2 separate regions of the Homo sapiens genome follow, and region 1 is linked to region 2. Evidence: promoter capture Hi-C in 16 types of primary human blood cells and fetal thymus (Javierre and others, 2016). All regions are on one chromosome and are shown on one strand. Each heading gives the region's core, a stretch centred on a gene start or on the middle of the fragment in contact. The rest is flanking DNA. Distances are from core to core; before and after follow the strand shown. Region 1 overlaps PACSIN2 (protein kinase C and casein kinase substrate in neurons 2). Region 2 holds the start of PACSIN2 (protein kinase C and casein kinase substrate in neurons 2).

What was found. The method cuts DNA at HindIII sites, captures the fragments that hold promoters and counts their contacts. A CHiCAGO score of 5 or more calls a contact.
Region 1: a contact is called between a fragment that was not itself captured here and the fragment with the promoter of PACSIN2 in region 2, in 3 of 17 cell types (neutrophils, endothelial precursors and monocytes). The highest score is 9.5, in neutrophils.

What each region holds. Positions count from the first base shown.
Region 1 is chr22:42,902,465-42,906,149 of GRCh38, reverse strand. All of the region lies in intron 2 of PACSIN2 (protein kinase C and casein kinase substrate in neurons 2), which reads left to right. Among named protein-coding and RNA genes, the nearest start is that of ARFGAP3, 47 kb to the right of the region's middle. RefSeq lists enhancers at 1-224, 1,119-1,639. The HindIII fragment of the contact is 2,027 bases long and covers 1,012-3,038 here.
Region 2 is chr22:43,012,684-43,016,641 of GRCh38, reverse strand. It overlaps PACSIN2 (protein kinase C and casein kinase substrate in neurons 2), which reads left to right and starts at 1,493. Exons shown (of 11, transcript NM_001184970.3): 1 at 1,493-1,621. RefSeq lists enhancers at 1,006-1,205, 1,188-1,891 and silencers at 1,326-1,515, 1,526-1,575, 1,696-1,765. The HindIII fragment of the contact is 24,608 bases long and covers 1-3,319 here.

The DNA.
Region 1 (3,685 bases), core at 776-3,275, 110 kb after region 2:
CTTGGAGCTCACAGGCCAGCAGCAGCACAAGACAGTTCCACAAGTGACTGCCATTTCCCTTGGACAGTTTTCAGCACTGCTGCCATCCCTGTCCATGGCCACTGTCCCCTAGCTTGGCAGGTGTTGCTTGGCTGGTGTTGCCAGGGCCTGGTGCCATGCACAGCACATGGGAGGGACTTACATACTTGAAGGAGTGGGTGGCGGTGGGTGGTCAGGTAGATATGACTGAAGGTCTCACAGGAGCCTCTCCTGCTGTGTTCCAGCAGCTGCAGAATTGGCCTGGTTCCCACAGGCGGCTTCCTGCTTTTAGGGCAAACAGGGCAGGGACCAGCCCTGGCCAGCACCAATCCCTTTTACCCATCCACCCACCAGGAGCACTGCAGGGAGCCAGCCGGGCAGTTTATTTTGGCTGGCTGCTGCAGGCCGTCGAATCTGTCATTTTTGTTTTCAGCTCTTTCATGCCCTTTGGTGTATGACATCTACAACATTGTCTTCGGCCTGCGTGCTCAGCCATTCCCGATACTGGGAAAAATCAAATTCCACTTTCAGTGGAGGAAAAGAAAGCAGAATTTGGGGTGCACCGTCGCAGGTCAGGCTCAGCCAGCAGTGATGGCCTGCTGCTGTTCTGTGATGGGCTGCCCAGGCCAGGGACAGCACTTGCTGGTAGTTGGGCACTGGGCCAGCGGCACCAATGAGCCTGTTGACACCCAGAGTTTATTTTGTCTGAGGTCACAGGACACCTGCATGGCAAGGCCAAGTCTAAATGACTCCCGAGCCCGAGTGGTCTCTGAGCGTCCTCTCTACACTTACCGTTTCTGCAGCCACACGCGGGAGCATCGCACACGCGGAGACAGGAAAAGGTGGATGAATGAGGTCACCTTTCCTTCTGTTGTGCAGACAGACCTGTCTTCCCCCCGTGTGAATGCCATCATTCTGAATGCAGAGAAAGAGTTCTTTGGTTTTTGCGTTGAGGGAATTTAGCACTTCGGGGTTTTGTGCTGTCAAGAAGCTTGTCTTCTGAAGATAAAATTTTTTAAATTTTTTTTGTGCATTTCTGTAGATGAAGATAAAATTTTATTTTCTTATTTGATCTCAGTGATGTCAGAATAACTTTTTAAAACTGTTTAAGAGACACATTTTTCCTTTCTATTCAGTAACAAATCTCCTTTCATTTTAGAGCCGGTGGGGTCCGTAGTGCTCATTAGACTGTGGTGGGCTTAGCTCCATGGAGACATTTGTGGATAAACGATTGTTTGAGCTGGGCACAGTGCAGGGGGGCGGAGCTGGGGTGCCCAGGCACAGAGATGGGGAGAGGAGCCCACATTCCACTAGTGGGGACTGGTAGGGTAACAGGAGTCATAAAGTAAACCAGGATTCGGGTGCAGGGGGCTAGGGCCAGGGTGGAGGTAGACTGGAGTGCAGTATGGGGGGGCTGTGGAAGCACCAAACTGGGAAGAGGAGGGAACGGAAGGAGGTGGGGAGGCTTCCTGGAAGAATTGATCCTCCAGCTTTTCCCAGCTGGCGTTTCCCCACTAGATCATCGGCTTTGGACCTTAGGGGTCGAGCCAGTTTTGGATGTCTCTCACACTCCCTGTCAGTCAGGGGGTGCCTTGGGAATTCTGCCAAAAGCCTCAGGTCTTCAGCGAGCTTAGGGACCGGGCAGGTGATCTCGCCATGGCAGCTCTTCCAGCAAGGTGATGCCTGCATCAGTGGGGGCGCCTCCCTGAGGAGTGAGGGAGAGCAAAAACGGCAGCCACATACCAAATTCCTGCCACTTGCTGGGTGCTCGGCTGAAGGCAAGTGAGCAGTGCATGTCTTCCCAGAGACCCAGGGCTCCAGGATGGGAGATGGCACACAGGGCGGCATATGCTGTGCATGTGAACGCCATGTAGGGTGTCGCGGGGCCTTCTCGACATCTGTGTAACACGCACCAAGGGAGCAGAGCATGGGGAGCCTGGCCGACGGCCTTGAGGAAGAGTTAGTTCAACACAGCTTTGCGTAAACACATCCTTTCTTTCTATGTTGTCTATCTTATGTGTTCTGCCTTTGGAGTTAGGATCTGAAAATTGCAATTTCTGGGTTTCTGTGTCATCTATTTTTTATTTTGTCATTTTGAACATTTCAGTTAAAGATTCGTAACTCAGTGTGTCTTTATGATTGTTGAAATCTGGGATTCATGCTTTTAAATGATCAAACGGCAAGGGGTGCTTTCAGGGTAGTGAGCTCCATTTTCTTCACCTTCGTACTTGAGGATACAGGTTTCAGGAACAGAGGATACGGCCAGTCAGTGTTGGGAGCAAGAACTGAAAACCCCAAGTTGAGACAGAATTGAGGCCCCGAGGAAAGGACAGGACTAGTGCTGGGTCAGAATCGAGTCTGGATTGTAGATCAGACTCAAGGCGATTCTGAATCTCTAACCCTCTTGGGCCCTGCAAGGTAAATAGCATCACCTCATTTGCAGATGGCGAGCCCCAGTGAGGTTAGGTGTTAGTCTGAGCTTGTGGTTCAAGGCAGCACCGAAGTGTGGAACTCCCAGGGCCTACATTCCAGGGCTGAGACAAGTTGGGAGCCCAGTGGTGGATGAGCTGGTGGGAAGTTTGGGGACCAGGACGAGTGGAATCCCATAGAAATGAGGATGTGGAAATTGCAGTTTGGCACCTGAAAGCAAGGCACGGACTAGATGGTTTTTCAAGGACCCCTGTTACTCTTTGGTGTTTTCAAACACACATCACAGATTTCACAACCCTAATATCAACAGTCATCCCCGTTTGGAAAGGAAGATTCAGCATAGGGGTTAGGATAGGTTGGAAGAAAGTTGCCTGAAGCTGTCACCATGGGGACATCTGGCAGGTGTGTACAGGATACAACATCTGCCAGGCACACGCACACCCTCCCCAGGGAAGGTGGGTGAGAGGTAGTGACTCTGCAGGGCACAGTCCTGAGGAGAAGGGACTCAGTCCTGGAGCCCCCTCTAGCTGCCTGGGACGTGGGTTGGCTTAGGGATAAACTAACTCAGGCCCTGGATTTCCCTGAAAGCTTTGTAGCTGCAGTGAAGGCCCGGTGAGGCCCTGCAGCTGGCTGTGCTTATGTGACTCTCTCAGGAATGCGGCAGAAGCGCCGGGAGTTGCTCTTCTGCCGGCCATGAAGTTACTGGCTGATGACGTGCTAAGAGTTGATTCCTTTTAGCTACCATGGAGAGAGCTCGTGTGACTCGCAGGATTGAGAACTGATAAATAGGCCGGGCGCGGTGGCTCACACCTGTATTCCCAACACTTTGGGAGGCTGAGGTGGGTGGATCACTTGAGGTCAGGAGTTCAAGACCAGCCTGGCCAACATGGCGAAGCCCTGTCTCTACTAAAAATACAAAAATTAGCCAGGCGTGGTGGTGCATGTCTGTAATCCCAGCTACTTGGGAGGCTGAGGCAGGAGAATCGCTTGAACCCAGGAGGCAGAGGTTGTGGTGAGCCGAGATCATGCCACTGCTGAGATGCACCACTGTCCAGCCTGGAAGACAGAGCGAGACTCCATCTCAAAAAAAAAAGAACTGACAGATAAAGGATCATGAGTTGTTTGGTTGACCATGCCTCTGAGATCTCAGCGACTTCTCAGTCCCTTCCTTTCCAGGGGGAATGGAAATCCCAGCTCCCAGCACTGTTTGGGCTCTGAGAAGATAGGGTGTCCTCTT
Region 2 (3,958 bases), core at 244-2,743:
GAGTCTCGCACTGTCGCCAGGGCTGGAGTACAGTGGCGTGATCTTGGCTCACTGCAACCTCCGCCTCCCAGGTTCAAGTGATTCTCCTGCCTCAGACTCCCAAGTAGCTGGGATTACAGGTGCATGCCACCACACCCAGCTAATTTTTTGTATTTTTAGCAGAGACAGGCTTTCACTGTGTTGGCCAGGCTGGTCTCAAACTCCTGACCTTGTGATCTGCCCGCCTCGGCCTCCCAGAGTACTGGGATTCCAGGCGTGAGCCACCGTGCCTAGCCGGTTCTTTTGTTTCTTTCTCAATTATTGTCATAAGGACAATGCCACAGAGCAGTCTAGAAAGTAAACAACCACTAGATTTCTTTGTGGACTCTTTTCTCATACCTATCTATATGTAGCAGCAATTCTACAGTTTCTACCATTTTGTATCTAGCTTTTTCTTTTATTATTATTTTCTTTTATTTTACTTTTTAGAGAACTGGGTCTTGCTATGTGGCCCAGGTTGGCCTCAAACTCCTGGGCTGAAGCGATTCTCCTGCCTCGGCGTCCCAAGAAGCTGGGATTCCAGGTGCATGTCACCATGCCTGGCTCTATCTGGCTTTTTCTTTTAACGTTTTAGTTTAAGCATTTTCCCATAGTGCTACACAGTCATCATTATTATTCTCAAGGGTTGGGCTGACCTGGGTTTCTAATCCTGGCTCTGCCATTTACTCTCTTTACTCCACATCACCCCCAGCAAGTTACCTGGCTCACCCCTCACCTGGGGTTCCTCTCACCATCCTCTCCACCTGGATGACATGAAGCAGTGCTTGGACAGCGCGTAGGACAGTGCTCAGGAAGTGCTCTCCATTTTCCTTCAAGAGTATTTCCCTCTGCAGAACGGGGCTAATACCCTATCATGCAAGGTGATTGTGAGAATTGGAAAGAATGCGTGTGCATTGCCTGGTGCCTTGCCATCCAAATATATTTTATTAGAGAGAGCAGCAACATACGCCCCCCCAACCCCCCGTTTAAACTAAGCGGGTCCACGTGGAATGACGCTTTTGGCGCAAGTCGGAGGAGCTCCTAACGACATTAGCTTCTTTGAGTCCCTTGGGAGAGGAAACTTTCTGAAAGACTGTAGGATTACCTTCCCTGAACTTCCGGTCAGGTGCGGTGCTGCCCTGCCGCGCCCTCTTACCCCTGGATGCCGACGAAACCGCAAAACTCCAGCCCCGGGAAGCGCGTCTCAAGGACCACCACCAGCGAGCGGCTTTGGGAGAGTAATCTGCGCCACCCTCGCAGCCCATTAAATAGGCACTCCCCGTTTGATTGACAGGAGAAGTCACCAATGCGCGTCCTGGGGCTTTCCCTCGTCCTCACGCGGGGTGAGCCGCCTCTCTACTCATCTGGCCCAATCGGGGGCGCCGGGGAGGCTGTGGGGCGGGGCTCGGTGTCCGGTAGCCAATGGACAGAGCCCAGCGGGAGCGGCGGGGGCGGTGCGGTCGCGGCTGGCGGCAGAAGCGGCCGCAGGGGTCTGGGCAGGGCTGGGCAGTGCTGCCGGAGCAAAAGCGGTAGCGGGAGCCCGGCCGGAGCTGGGTCTGGAGACGCCGTGGCAGCCTGAACGGAGTGTGCGACGGATTGGGAGGTGAGTGGCCGCCGAGGTCAGGGGTCGCCGCGACGGTTGGGGCGCCGCGGGCGGGACGCGGGGGCGCTGGTCCGCGGCCGGGCCCGCGCCCCGTCAGGGCCGCCGCGCCGAGCTCCGCGCCCTGAGGGAAGCGGGTCGGGCCGCGCGGAACTTCCTGTCTCTGTGGGAGGGGGCGAGTGCTCGGGGCCCCGGGGGGCGCCTGGAGAAGACATCTTGGGGAGGACGAGGGCGAGTGGGGTCGGCTCGGGGAAGGGGCGGGGGCCCATGGGGGCGGCGCTGTGGGAGCGGGGCAGTTTTCCGGGGTCCGGGGCCTGCTGGAGAGGGAAGTGCAGGAGCAGGGCCGTCGGGGGTTAAGAGCTGCTAATGAGTGGGGGAGGTGTAGACAGCTGCAGAAGGGGGAGCTGGGGCGACTTTTGGAGGGACGCGATTTAGGAGAAAGCTGGGAATCCGAGACGTGCAGAGGTTAGGCGAGGGTGCCGGAGCAACGCTGGAGGGAAGGCGTGGCTGGGACGCGCCGGTGAGAGGGCAGGGCTTAGTCCTGGGGTGGCCTGGGGGGCGACGCAGGACACACGCGGGTGCGCTGATTTCGGGCGCTTTGATGAGCGGCCTCCATTTCCTTCCTTCCCACCCTCCGTGTCCCGGGGGGGGGGGGGTGGTGTGTGTGTGTCTGTGTGTGTGTGTGTGTGTGTGTGTGTGTGTAGGGCGGGGGGAGCAAAGCCCTTACCGCAGCACGTCCTAGGGCTGGGGCCAAGCAGGAGAGGCCGGGGAGGTTTGCCCTTGTGACCCTCCTCAGAGTTTCCCCAGACTCACTGAATCAGAAATCCGAACTCCTTACTCCTCTAGGGCTTTCAAGCCTGGCCAGGCATCCTGAGAGGTCCGCAATTGGAGAGGTAGTGATTGCTGCTGCTGTTGAATTTCATTGATTCATTGGGTTTCGGCTCCATCAGAGAAGGTCGATTTTCTTTTCAGAAGGAGTTGGTTGGTCAGGGGAGCAAGCTGTGCTATTGCTTTGGGGCCCACACGGCTGCAGCCTTTGACGTATAACAGGACCTGGGGATGCCACTCTTGGCTTGGGTGCCTGAGGGAAGGTGGCCTTTGGCTGGGTGTGTGCACCATTCCTGGATCCTGTCTTCTCTTTTTCCCTCCGCCTGTCCGGTGTTTTTGTGGTTAAGGGGGTAGGCTGCTCAGAGTCTCCAGGGCTACTTGGTACACTGTTTACCAAATACTGCCTGGCTGTCTTGATGAAAATCAGGAAACCAGCTCAAAGAGTTTGAACCTCAGCTGCAGATGGTGAGCTCACACCTTCTTCCTTCCCTCCTTTTCGGTGCCTTCCTCTGCGGTTATTCCCGTGTGCTGAAGTTCTGTTTTAACCCTCCTGGGATTGCCAGGTTGGAGCCCAGGGCAAGGGAACCGACCAGGCAGGCAGTGTTGAATGCCAGCCCTCCTGTTCTTGCCCAAGATGTTGTCGTTCCACTTGATTCATGAGCCTGCCTGCATGCAGCCTCCTCATGGAGACATTGAAGCTGTGCCAGTGCAACTTGGATCTCTCTTGATTCACCTGGAAAACTTTCACTTGTGTGGACTTAAACTTAATTCTAGAGTTTGGTAGCCTCTTTGGTGAGGTTATGCTGGTTGAGATATGAGGCCACTACATCAAAAACATTGGTGTGTTTTTCTTTTGACAATAGACTTAAAGCTTTAAAGAAAGTGGCCATTAGGCTGGTGATATTTATTACTTGGGAAAGTAACATAACACAGAGAAGTAGATGGGTGATTAGGTCTGCACTCTTTATCCACTTTTTGGGAGAAGAATAACAACTCATTTGAATGGAAATGGTATCCTTAGCTCGTGCTGCTTTGGGACTTGGAACTTTATCACTTTTAATCTCAAATGTATATGAAGTTGTGATGTGATATTTAAATAATCTAGGCTGGGCGGGGTGGCTCACGCCTGGGATCCCAGCACTTGGGAAGGCCGAGGCGGGCAGATCACCTGAGGTCAGAACTTAGAGACCAGCCTGGCTAACATGGTGAAACCCCGTCTCTACTAAAGATACAAAAATTAAGGCCGGGCGTGGTGGCTCACGCCTGTAATCTCCAGCACTTTGGGAGGCAGAGGCGGGCGGATCACCAGAGGTCGGGAGTTCGAGACCAGCTTGACCAACATGGAGAAACCCCATGTCTACTAAAAATACAAAATTAGCTGGGTGTGGTGGTGCTCATACCTGTAATCCCAGCTACTTGGGAGGCTGAGGAAGGAGAATTGCTTGAACCCAGGAGGCGGAGGTTGCGGTGAGCCAAGATCCGGCCGTTGCACTCCAGCCTAGGCAACAAGAG